Regions from separate parts of the Homo sapiens genome. Here region 1 is linked to region 2. The links are contacts of gene promoters, found by promoter capture Hi-C in blood cells and fetal thymus (Javierre and others, 2016). All regions are on one chromosome and are shown on one strand. The core of a region is centred on a gene start or on the middle of the fragment in contact, and the rest is flanking DNA. Distances in the headings are between cores, read along the strand shown.

Region 1 (6,322 bases), core at 1,263-3,762, 360 kb before region 2:
GTGAGTATATAACTGATACAATTTTTTTCTTCTATTATGACCAGTTTCTTACCTAAGCAAAAATGTATGACCAGTTGGTTTGTATAAGGTTAGCAATAACTTAGGGGTATATTCTCTTCCTGCATCCCAGTGCACAGTGAGTTGTATATCACAAATAGAGCCACTCAGATACTTGGGCCCTAACAACTGGCAGCACTACCCCAAGTGATATACCAGATGGCTTGCAGAGTGTTGTATCAGGGTAGTCCATTATTCATAGTGTGTGTACTCTTTGTGTTGTTTTTTTTTCCTCCTTATTCAGCCATGAATAAGGGTACCATGAACTACCTATACCCAGCTGCCTGGTGTGTCTGTAATAAGCAGAGCAGCCTGTGAGATTAGGAGCCTCTGGGATGGGACGAGGTTTGTTTCTGAGCCTTTGCTACTAGCCCATTCAATGCTGGAGCACAATCAGAGGCCAGTTTTACTGTTAGCCTTTCCTAGAGAAACTCCCCTCTTCCTTCACAGTTGGTCCAGAGGTTATAGTTGTGTTCAGATGTGTAGAAGAGAGCCCCTGCGGGGAGAAAGTCCGTCCCATCAGCTAAGTCTAGCTAAAGCCTACTTCATGGGTTCAGAAGACATTAATGGTTCCACCTGTTTCTACACTGCAGTTCTAAGGATGCTGTATTGATCAGAAGTAGTAGTAGCATGATGGTTTTCCAATAATCAGTTCTGTTTTCAGTGGAAAAAATGCTTTTGATTTATTTAGGGTCTGGTATATATTTTTCATGTCAGTTTACCTAATATGCATGAAAGTGTTTTAACATCTATGTATGTCTTTACAGAAGTTAGTTGTAGCTGGTTCCATATCTATTGTATAAAGAAGTATTAACAGAATAGGTTTGCTTGCATTATTATACTTTCATCAATGTGACAGTTTACTTGGATTTTTGTTTTCAGAAAGTGGTATTTTCATACTTGTATCTAAGTATTACGTTGCATTAGACAAAGTGTCTTCCATGAAGATAAACTGCCATCTTAGCTAATTTGGAACAACCAAGTCCTATTAATATAAATAGAAAATATTGACACAAAGAATTCTTTTCTTATTTAGTTGGTTATTTAATTTAAAGATTAATATTTTTACCTTATGGAAAGTTTGGAAAATAGAAAAAAAAATTATTCATTTTTGAGACAGGGGTCTCACTCTGTTGTGCAGGCTGGAGTGTAGTGGCAGGATCTTGGCTCACTGCAGCCTCTGTCTCCCAAGTCCAAGCGATCCTCCCACCTCAGCCTCCCAAGTAGCTGGGACTACAGGCACAAGCCATCACACCTGGCTGATTTTTGTATTTTTTTTGTAGCAACAGGGTCTCACTTTGTTCCCCAGGCTGGTCTCAAACTCCTGGACTCAAAGGGTCCTCCTGCTTTGCCCTCCCAAAGCTCTGGGATTACAGGCATGAGCCACTGCGCCCAGCCTTCCATTGACTTTTTTTTTTCTTTTTAACCATTTGGATTGCATTAAATATCTTTTTCATTTTTTGCATTATGTTTGTAAGCTTTATTCTTAGAAGAGAAATTACTGGGTCTGTTTTTTACAGTTTTTTATACAATGCCAAAATGTTTTCTTAAAAAAAATACTAGTTACCTACCAGTGATAAAAAGTTTCAGGTTTGTTTTACCCATCCAAACATAAGGGGTTAGACATATTTAAATTCTTATAATTTAGAGGACAAATTAAAAATGTACCTTGTTTATATTTCTTTGATTAGAGAGATTGAATGTGTTTTCTTTATGTGAGTTAGTTTCCCTGTTTATTAGTCCTGAAATTTTAAAATCTCAATTTGTATGAGCTTTTTAAAAAATAGAAAACATCTTATTTGTCATTTGCTATGGATCTTTTTTTTTAGTTCATTACCATTTAGTTATTGTACCTGAGTAGCTATTTTTTACACAAATCTTAACCTTCTCCCTTTGCGATTGTTTTTTTTTTGGTCACTTCTAAATTTATCAAGGTGTTAGATTCTGAGACCTAACATATCTATCAATTTGCCTCCTTTGTTTTGAGATACCTGTATTTATGTGACTTTCTATGTGTATTTATCTGGAATTACTTTTAGTGAAATAAGGTGGAGGTCTGAATTAAAACTTTTTCCTGGTTGTTAATGAAATGTTGCAGTGACTGAACTGTTTTGTGTGCCATAGTAGCACTGAGAAGTCCATGAAGTCCAATTATTCTAATGTCTTTCCTTAGTTTTCCTTCAGTTTCATTTATCTCATGAGACCTGAAAACTCCAACATGAACTGTGTACCCATGTGTTCTTTTTGCTTCTTAAACTAGTAACATTTCTGGCTTTATTCTACCACAAATTCTTTTTCACTTGCTTTCTATTATGTGAACCTCCACTGTTACAGTGTTAACATTTTCCTTCCTTTTTTTGTCACTGCAGGAAGTACTCCCACTACCCCAACCTCCTCTCAAGCCCCACAGAAACTGGATGCTTCTGCAGCTGCAGCCCCTGCCTCTCTGCCACCTTCATCACCTGCTGCTCCCATTGCCACTTTTTCTTTGCTTCCTGCTGGTGGAGCCCCCACTGTGTTCTCCTTTGGTTCTTCATCTTTGAAGTCATCTGCTACGGTCACTGGGGAGCCCCCTTCATATTCCAGTGGCTCCGACAGCTCCAAAGCAGCCCCAGGCCCTGGCCCATCAACCTTCTCTTTTGTTCCCCCTTCTAAAGCCTCCCTAGCCCCCACCCCTGCAGCGTCTCCTGTGGCTCCATCAGCTGCTTCATTCTCCTTTGGATCATCTGGTTTTAAGCCTACCCTGGAAAGCACACCAGTGCCAAGTGTGTCTGCTCCAAATATAGCAATGAAGCCCTCCTTCCCACCCTCAACCTCTGCTGTCAAAGTCAACCTTAGTGAAAAGTAAGTCACTTCTAAAGTTTGATTCTTCTGTGAGTTGGGTAGAAATATTGGATGTTATTTACTAAAAGTAGAGTCACTCTGAGAGGAGTTAACTGAGTAGAATTTTTTTACCCAGAGTGATACTTGCAAATGGCAAAAATTCAACCAACATAAAATACTGGCATTTCATCAGTGAATAGAGTCCAGAAGGGTCTCTTAGCTAGCATTTTATTTTTTTGACTATGGGATTTATATTCAGGTATTTGTTTTGCTTTTTTACGTTACAAATGTAGGAAATATTCCTTATTTTAAAAAAAGAAGCAATCCAGAGTATGCATCCTGGAAGGGAAATGAATCCCTTGTAGTCTTTTTTCCTCCCTGTGTCTACCCTTAACTCTCTCTGAACTGCTGTCTACACAGCCACAAAGTCATCTTGTGACACTGTAAATTGTTAGGTGATTCTTCTGCTTGACAGTCCCTATGAAGCCCCGTGGCTGCTCACTGCTAATTCTTAGGTTGGTATCCAGTTTCCTCCAGATCTGGGTCGGGCAGCTCACTCATTTCTTATTTATTTACTTCTTTATCTTGTTCTTTTCTTCCCACTAGAATGTAAGCTTTTGGAGGGAAGCAATCCCTTATATCTTGTAACCCCTCCCAAGATAACCATGAGTTCCCAAGATAACCATCGAGTATAAGTACTACCAGCTTTTTCCCTACTTGCCTGTACTATCTGTTGTTGCTATGGTGGTGCTGCTGCCACCACAGTTACTGTTAATACTGAATTGGCACACATCCACTTCATGCTAAGGGTTGCATAGTGTTCCATTTTGTTGACTGCACCACAGTTTATCTGACCAGTCATCTAATGCTGGAGTTTAGATTGTCTACAGACTTTTGCTCTTTAGGTGGAACCGACTTTACATTTCCTTTAGGCCATAAGTATCCCAAAGACAGTTCCCTGCATTCCTCTTCCTTTTTCACTCCCCAGAGAAGGTGCTCACTCTCAAAACGAGTTCTCAGTAATTTCCTTGGTAAGAGAAAGTACTAACTCTCCTAAGCATAATTGTGTCCCACCTCCTGTTTAAAACTCAGCTGGAAACAATAGTATTTCATATCATGATAAACTTGGTATTTCATATTGTGATAAACTTAGTTTTGATATTTCCCCTGAATAATTAATTCCTAAATAAGCAGACGAAAAGATAAATGTTTCCTTGCAGCTTTCACCTTTTATAAGAAATAGCTAAACATTTTTGTTTCCTGAAGGCAAAAAGTATGTTATCTTTGTAAGTTAACATAAAAGATAATAAGTTATCTTTTGATGACATTGCTCATGCTAGTGTAAAAGAATCTTCTAGCAGGCTCTTCTGAGGCCTTCAGGCTGCCATTTTTCAGGTTTACTGCTGCAGCTACCTCTACTCCTGTTAGTAGCTCCCAGAGCGCACCCCCGATGTCGCCATTCTCTTCTGCCTCCAAGCCAGCTGCTTCTGGACCACTCAGCCACCCCACACCTCTCTCAGCACCACCTAGTTCCGTGCCATTGAAGTCCTCAGTCTTGCCCTCACCATCAGGTATGATTTTAAGCAGACAACTTTAGACCTCAGCCCTGCCTTCTCAGATTAACGGTTTTAAGTGTTAAGAGTCGTAGCTAACATAGTTGGACAAGGTTATTTTTTCTTGCTTCCTGTATCATACATTAATGATTAATGTGCTGTGATTTTCATACTCTGAATTGGGAGATTTGCTCTTGCTTAAATGCTGCCACTCTTCTCTCTGACACTTCTTATGGAGCTAAGTGTATTTAATGAGTCAAAAATGCCTTGCTCTTGGGCATTTATTTTCATATGGAGCCTGCCCTCCATGAAGAGCAGTTACATAACAGTTCTTTAAGAAGCACAGGCACAAGAGTTGTTTGGCGGGGTGCGGTGGCTCACGCCTATAAACCCAGCACTTTGGGAGGCCAAGGCAGGTGGATCACCGGAGGTTAGGAGTTCGAGACCAGCCTGGCCAACATGGCAAAACCCCATCTCTACTAAAAATACAAAAATTAGCCAGGTGTGGTGGTGGGTGCCTGTAATCCCAGCTACTCAGGAGGCTGAGGCGGGAGAATCACTTGAACCTAGGAGGCAGAGATTGCAGGGAGTCGAGATCACGCCACTGCTCTCCAGCCTGGCGACAGAGCGAGACTCTGTCTCAAAAAAAAAAAAAAGTACAGAGGAGAGAGTACCTGCAGTGATTATATTCATATTTTCACAGTCAGTCATACTGTAAACAGGAAGTTTTGTTTTGTTTTTTGAGACCCTCTCACTCTCTCACCCAAGCACATCACTGCAGCCTCTACCTCCTGGGCTCAAGCGATCTTCCCACCTTAGCCTCCTGAGTAGCTGGGACTACAGGCATGTACCACCACCGTCGGCTAATTTTTAAATTTTTTTGTAGAGACAAAGTCTTGCCATGTTGCTCAGGCTGGTCTCAAACTCCTGGGCTCAAGCAATCCTCCTGCCTCAGCCTCCCAAAAGGCTAGGATTACAGGTTTGAGCCACCATACCTGGCTCCTAAAATTTTAATATATTTTTTTCATTATCTTAGAACAGAGGCTAGCACAACTGGTGGTCATCACTCTTTAAAATAAATCATGAAAGTGGGCCAGGGGCAATGTGTAACTTAATTTCTTAGATTTGGAGAAAGGACATTTGTGATAGGAGAAATAAAGGTAATAAATGCCATCTATTTTAACTGACTTCTTTTTCAAGCAGGACGATCTGCTCAGGGCAGTTCAAGCCCAGTGCCCTCAATGGTACAGAAATCACCCAGGATAACCCCTCCAGCGGCAAAGCCAGGCTCTCCCCAGGTATGTTTAAATTCAGCTTGCAATGTTTGTGTTTATTAATTTACTGCCCCAAGCATACCTATGAATAAAATGAGTTTTCATGTTTTATAATTCAGACCTTGGACATAGTAATTGGGACTATGTGATAGTAAATACCAAAGTGCGAGGTTTGAATACTTGTATACTCGTAAAAGCCATTTAGCTATTTTAATTTTTTATTCATGTATAATACAAATAGAAAAAAGTACACATGATACATGTACAGCTCAGTGAATTGTCAACAACTGAACATACCTTGGTAACTAGCATCCAGATCAAGAAACAGAATTTTACGAGAACCTGGCTGGGCACAGTGGGTCATGCCTGTAATCCCAGCACTTTGGGAGGCCAAGGCGGGCGGATCACCTGAGGCCAGTAGTTCGAGACTAGCCTGGTCGACATGGTGAAACCCCGTCTCTACTAAAAACGCAAAAATTAGCCGGGCGTGGTGGCACGTACTTGTAGTCCCAGCTCCTGAGGAGGCTGAGGCATGAGAATCACTTGAACCCGGGAGGCGGAGGCCAGAACCCCAGAGTTCTTTTTCACCTGTCCCCTTCTAGTCACTACTCTTGC
Region 2 (6,564 bases), core at 3,501-6,000:
TTTTCTCTTACCTGGTATTTCCTTCCTTTCTCCTCCCCCACCCCAAATAAAAAAACAAAAAACACTAGAATTTATTTATATGTATTGATGTTGTAGGTCTAGGTGAAAAAAAAAGAAGTAAATGTTTCACTGCTCTATTTATATATAATGTCTGAATTAATTCTGTGCAGGAAAGGCCAGGAAATTGCATGTGAAGTTCGGTGCAGTCACCACCTGTGTGTGACCTGAGCTGCAGTCTCTTCGCTGAGATGCAGGTTTTAAATGAGACTTGGGGGGCTGAGGGCAGGCCTCAGGCCTCCCAGCGCCCCAACCCCTCCTTGGTCTAATGAAATGCAGTTCTTAGTGCAGAGATGTTTTAAGGTGCAATATATCTCTTCCTTTCCCGTGGTTTTAGAGCCAAGCTCAAGGTAGTAGGACGTAGGGTCTTATTTTGTTTTCAAACCCCCATCCTCAGAGCGCAGATACATGCAGAGGCTTCTGCCAGGATACCACGGGGCCTTAGTGGGAACAGGTGGAGACCAGCACTTCCCTTTCCTGCTGCTGAGGTAGGGATTGGGGGGTCAGAACCCACTCACTTTTGCCTGTTAAAGTTGCCCTCCTGACGCTGGCAGCTCTGCCTTGGTCACTGGGGATGCGGCTCGTTGCTCAGCCACCAGTGGCCTTGCGGTATTGTCCACCATCCACTAGAGTGGGATGAAGTCCAGAGTGTGGGTATACATCTCAGATGCCCATCTACCCACTGGGGACTTCAATGCCAGCTGCATTTGGTTTGGTTTTCTTAACTGTTGGCTTCTCCCCACAGCGTTTTTTGTTTTTTTTTAAACATTCATATTGTTTTCAAACTTGGAATTCATAGACACTCTGGCTCTAGGTTCCTTAAGGGGGAAAACAAAAGATGACTTTATTTCACATTCAAGAAAATCAGTTCAGTTCCAAAGCTGTGGTCCTTCCAGCCACTTCTAGGGACACTGGGGAACCTTGTTAAACGTTGACATCAGTGCTCTCCAGCCGTGCTGTCACCCTCCTATCTTCTGGATCTGCCTTCGCGATGGTCAGTGACAGCTTCTGGAAGCTGAGCACACACAGGTGCACAGCCATGCTGTGGTCTGGCCTGCTACGGCAGCATGGCAGCTCTGGTGGAGCCTTCTCCCTTGCCATTTGGTTCCCCTGTGCCAAGTAGCTGCAGGCTGCCCCTCAAATCTTCATTTGTCCCTTTTCACTTCCTGCAGAACAAGCCTGGGTTAGAGGGTCTGCTGGAAATGGCCTTTGAAGACCAAGGATACCAGGATGTGTGCACTCTGTCGTGTTCTGTGATGAATGGGAAACGTAGGCTTCCAGAAAGCCAGCTCTCTTCTGAAATGTGACGGACCTAAGCAGGAAGTCATCCAGGACAGGAGTGGCTCAGTGTTGGGGATGGACGCTGTCGCCCAGCCATGCTCCACCAGGGCCACCAATGTGTAGTTGGCTGGTGGTCTTCGGGCATGTGAGACCTGCTCTTCACTGTTTCCACCCCACTTGGTGGCCTCCAGGATGGTAGTGGCACCCTCAGAGCCCCATCTTCAGCATGTTCTGAAGCCTCAGAGTGGAAATTCCTGCTAAGGCTCTGTGTGGACGCCTTTCTCCCGTGATCTAAAGGGGACACTGTACTCAAGCTTTTGACCTCATGCCTTGTGTAGTAAAAAAGGATTTGGGGGTTTTGTTTGGTTCCTGAGAGGGTTGTGTTTTGTTTTTGTTTCCTTTTGTTTATGTTTTGGCCTTTCCTCTTTGTCTTTCCATGTAGACCAGATATTTGAAAGGGCAGACGATGGCTAGAGGTGTAATGTGCAGCTTGTTTATACGGTATTTTGGGAAACTTACCTTGGATGGGAAATCGAATCGTGGATTCACCAGGCCGGTGCTGGCACACTCACCCTCGCCCTTTCCCTCCGGTTCAGTACCTATTGTTTCTCCTTTCAAATATGTGATTGTACTAGCTCTTTCCATATGAAAGAATTCTCCTTATTTAAATAAAAAAAGTTTAAAAAGATAAAGCTGAACGTGCTTTCTCAGGTTGTACATCCCTCGTTTCTTGGTCATTTGACCAGAGAGACCTACAGATCAAAGAATTCTAATTTTACAGAGTTCACACGGAAATTAGGAGTGGCACGGCTGAAATGCCTTAACAGAAGCTGTGTGGGTAGAGAAGGGATTGAAACCCGTGGCTAAGAAGCATCTTCCAAATGCGGCAGCATCAAGCACTCCACCCTCTTCCCACGGATGGCATCTGGTTGTGCACAGTGCCTGCCTGTGGCCCCGTCACTTGCCGTGAGAAACGAGCTGGTCAGAGGAGGTAAGCATTTGATGTGGCGTGTTGTGTTGTCACTTCTAGCGGTGCTTTTGCAGGAAGTGGAGGAGGATTATGCTGTGCTTTGGGGTGGGGAGGGAGCAAGCCAGGCCTGGGGTAGCGAAGGGTAAAAGGTAAGAATGGGCTGAGGCAGCAGTTCTCGGTTTTGCCATTGCCTCACTGACCTGGGGAAAGACGTTTCACCACCTGAGTCAGTCTCCTTAATCATAAAACACAGATTGTAATGGTATCGACCTCATGGCGTAGTGTGGATTCAAAGTCACCAGTAGCTTTTAGCTTAGTGCCTAGAACCAGCTAAGAAAACTTATAAATTACCCCCAAGAAATAAAACGCTGTTTCCATGAGGAACCCCAGTCCCTCAACTTCCTTCTAAGCCTTTTGACTATGGAAGAGAGTTGGGGACCTGGCCATGGGCATCTCAGCTTTAACTAGCCACACTCACTGCCCTGATTTACTGCTCCCTAGGGACAGGTGGCTCACAAAATCTCAAACGGAGACCAGCCCTGAAAGAGGCTAGTCCTAAGGTTGGGGGCTTGCAAGATGGAGGCTGTAAGTCCTGAGGCACCACCACTGTTAGCATGGCATGAACCAAAGCTTAACAGCCCAGCCCCACTCCCTCCTGGGGCCCAGGGAACCCTCCCTGCCCACTGTAAATACAGTTGCCTGCAGGCTCTGGCCACAAACCCAGGTGAGCCCCAGCTCCTTGCCTCTCTGTGGGATCTTGGGTGAGTCACATAACCCCTCAAGGGTAAGCCATAAAGAAGTAACCACGAAATTCTAACTGGTGTCATCTAATGCTATGTTGCCCAACATGGAAAAAAAGTCTTGCAGGCAGCCAAGAACCATAATGAAGGTTATTAAACCTGCAGTGTGCCCTTTTGGTCTGTATAGATTAACATACAAATAGACCAGGAGATCAAGAAGGAGCGAGGCTGAGAAGAGTGATCCATCAGCCTGGTTGCGTTGCTGTCAGTTACCCTGCTCTGGGTGCCGACTGTTCAGGGAAAACATGGGAAGGGGTGCATTGACCCAACCAAAAGTACCATGTCTGCTCCAAAGCAGGCCTTTGGGAAGGCTCTTGACCCTCAGCAGAGGGGGCTGGAGAGGCTGATGGATGAGGAGGAGCCCTGGGAATGGAGGAAGAAGCCTCCAGTCTTCTGCCACGGAGTTTAGGGGAGATGCCCCCACTGGAGCCTCTGATGGTCATGCAGCCCCCACTGATGTCCAGGTTTTTTTGGTTTTGTTTTTTGTTTTGAGACGGTCTCACTTTGTAGTCCAGGCTGGAGTGCAGTGGTGAGACCAAGGCTCACTGCAGCCTCGACCTCTCTGCCCCAAGTGATCTCCTGCCTCAGCCTCCCTTGTAGCTGGGACTGCAGGCAGACGCCAAGGGGCCCCGCTAATTTTTGTATTTTTTTGTAGAGACGGGGTCTCGCTGTGTTGCCCAGGCTCTCCTGGACTCAAGCGGGCTCACGGATCCTCCCACCTCGGCCACCCAAAGTGCTGGGGTTACAGGCGTGAGCCACCGCCCCCGGCCCTAGGTCCGTTTTAAATGCCCTTACCCTCAGCCACTTCACCGCTAGATGTATGTGCAAGCAGGATCGTGGCATCGATGTTTTTCGGCAAGGAAACTAGGAGCGCCCGCGGGCGTGGGGGCACGTGCCTGTGGTCTCAGCTGCTCTGGAGGCCGAGGAGGGAGGATCGCTTCGGGCAGAGAGGTCGAGGCTGCAGCAAGCCGTGGTCCTGCCACTGTACTCCAGCCTGGGCGACAGAGCGAGACCCCGTGTCTTAAAAAAAAAATTAAGGTCGGACGCAGTGGCTCACGCCTGTAATCCCAGCACTTTGGGAGGCCGAGGTGGGCGGATCACTTCAGGTCAGGAGTTCGAGACCAGCCTGGCCAACATGGTGAAACCCTGTCTCTACTACAAATACAAAAATTAACCGGGCGTGGTGGCGTGCGCCTTCAATCTCAGCTACTCGGGAGGCTGAGGCAGGAGAATCGCTTGAACCCGGGAAGCGGAGGTTGCGGTGAGCCGAGATCGCGCCATTGCACTCCAGCCTGGGCAACAAGAGCGAAACTCCGTCTCAAAAAAAAAGAAAAGAAAAGAAAAGAAAAAAACTAGGAGCAAACTGGCGCGCCCGGCAGAACGCCGTTGTGCAGACGCAGAATTAAGATCTTCACGCCAGATGGAGTGAAAAAGCAAGGAGCAGAAGATGGGTGGGAGCCCACTGCGCTTTTTAAAATCTGCACGTCTGCTTAGAGTACACAGAAATCCTGGCACACAAAACAGTAGCACCCGAGAGAGGGGAGGTCGCCGCGTTTCACACCTGCCTCTCCTCCGGGACCGGCGCCCTCGCCCGCTGCGCACGCGCGTCACCCTCTCCCAGTGCGCACGCGCGCTGCTGCCCGTCTGGCCCCGCAGGCTCGGTGAATCGAACGTTGAGCAGGGCGGTGGGTGGTGCGGAGTGCCGAGCGGCCTCACCCCCAACCGTCGGCCCAGTCGGACGGTTCCGAGGCGTTGCCGGGAGCCGGGCGCGGCTCTGTGTGGACTCGGAGAAACGCGGGTACATTTGGGGACACCGGGGACGAGAGCCCAGCCCGGACTTGGGGGAGTCCGTCAGTGCCGGACGCGGGTCCCTGGCTTGCGGACGGGCTGGGGCCGGGGGCGTCCCCGTCTTTCCGGAGCTGGGGGCGGGGTTCGGGCCCGGGCAGATGCGGCGTTCGGGCGGCCGAGCCCCGAAGTAAGAACTCCGTGGCGCGTGCAGCCCTAGGGAGGAAGGGCGTGCTGCGGGTGCAGTCTCAGGGTGAGGACGGAGCTGGGGCCGACGCAGCCTCGGGAGTTGGTGGACGGGACAGGTGCGGCCTGTGGGGAAGAAGGGCCGGCCAGGGAGATGCGGTCTGCAAGGGGAGAGGAGGCACTCCCAGGACAGATGGGACCTTTTGGGACGAAGGCGCTCAAGGCAGATGCAGCTCAGGGAGGGAAGGGCGCGTCCAGGGTAGATGGGGCCTGAGGAGACCAGCGGGGCGCCAACGGCCAGATGCGGCTTTGGTGTGAGACAGGGTGTCCCAGGCCTGATGCAGCCTCAAGAGAAGCGGAGCTCAAGGGAAGATGAAGCCTGGAGGAGAACGTGGGGGCGCAGGGTGCAAATGCACCCTCCAGGCGAGAAAGGGAGCACCCGGGGATGATGTGCCGCTGGGATAGAAGGCAGGGAGGCACTGGGGGCAGATGCATCCTTGAGGAGAGATGAGGAGGCCCCGAGGCTCGGCCAGGTTGGGGTCCCTGGGCTGTAAGCAGCTGAGATGGCACCCAGGAGCTGCCCAGGGTCAGGTAGCTGTGGCCGCACTGTGGGCTTCTGGTCGTCGGGGAGGGAGGGGAGAAACCCTGGCGTTCCTTAGCAGTGTTCTCGCGCCCAAGACGTGCTCGGCAGGTTTTGTGGAATGAGTTGTTGAAAGGAGTGAATGTCCAGTCCTGAGATCCCCTGAATTCCCACCCGAGTTCACTGCTAGTGCCCCTCACCCCACATGTCTACCTGAACCAAGGCTCCAGGAACTTCGGTCTTTCTCAGCAGCCCGGCTGTGCTGTGGTTCTCCTCGTGTGTCCGGGAGCCGGGTGGCTGGGGATCCCTTCTGTAGCCTCTCGTGAGCCCTCATGGACCACGGCTCCTCCCTTCTTTTCTAGGGCGTCTGCCTGAGCCCGCTTTTCTACAAGATGTGGGGATTTTTGAAGCGCCCTGTAGTGGTGACGGCTGACATCAACTTGAGCCTTGTGGCCCTGACTGGGATGGGGTTACTGAGCCGGCTGTGGCGACTCACCTACCCGCGGGCTGTGGTGTAAGCTAAATGACTCCATTCCCAGGGTGAATCTAGAATTGTACTTTGTGACAGGAGGCGCCCTTACTGAATAGCATAAATGGGAGAGTGAAATCCTGGCTTCTTGGTGATAGGTGTTTTTGGCAGTGAGAGGAGAGACCAGTCTGTCCCCAGGACAGCCCCAGCAGAGTACACCTTTTAGGTCTTGCCTTCTGAGTCTGTAACAGGTGAAATTTGGCCCATTAAAGGGGTGCAGTAGAGGAAAATCTGGTTGCCAGCCTTAAGTAACAGTTTTAAAGTCTGGACGGCAGAGGATTAATGGATTTGGAAGTAAGTCTTCACTGTTGAGAGCACTTTTTAGAATGTGTTTTTGTCATAATGGGAAGTGATTGCTGTTATTATTGAAGGGCTC

The links. Contacts are between HindIII fragments. The CHiCAGO score rates a contact against its expected background, and 5 or more counts as called.
Region 1: a contact is called between a fragment that was not itself captured here and the fragment with the promoter of POMT1 in region 2, in 3 of 17 cell types (total CD8 T cells, M2 macrophages and non-activated CD4 T cells). The highest score is 5.8, in total CD8 T cells.

Annotation. Positions count from the first base shown.
Region 1 is chr9:131,141,854-131,148,175 of GRCh38, forward strand. NUP214 (nucleoporin 214) reads left to right here. Exons shown (of 36, transcript NM_005085.4): 12 at 2,427-2,901; 13 at 4,276-4,451; 14 at 5,637-5,731. Among named protein-coding and RNA genes, the nearest start is that of NUP214, 19 kb to the left of the region's middle. RefSeq lists an enhancer at 2,374-2,875. The HindIII fragment of the contact is 1,959 bases long and covers 1,534-3,492 here.
Region 2 is chr9:131,498,168-131,504,731 of GRCh38, forward strand. It overlaps POMT1 (protein O-mannosyltransferase 1), which reads left to right and starts at 4,751. Exons shown (of 20, transcript NM_001077365.2): 1 at 4,751-4,906; 2 at 6,022-6,173. The coding sequence starts at 6,052. It overlaps PRRC2B (proline rich coiled-coil 2B), which reads left to right. Exons shown (of 32, transcript NM_013318.4): 32 at 1-2,026. It also overlaps the pseudogene LOC124902290. RefSeq lists enhancers at 1,849-3,048, 4,537-5,404, 5,405-6,270, 5,642-5,701, 6,182-6,261 and 1 more and silencers at 4,652-4,851, 4,922-5,071. The HindIII fragment of the contact is 12,581 bases long and covers 2,937-6,564 here.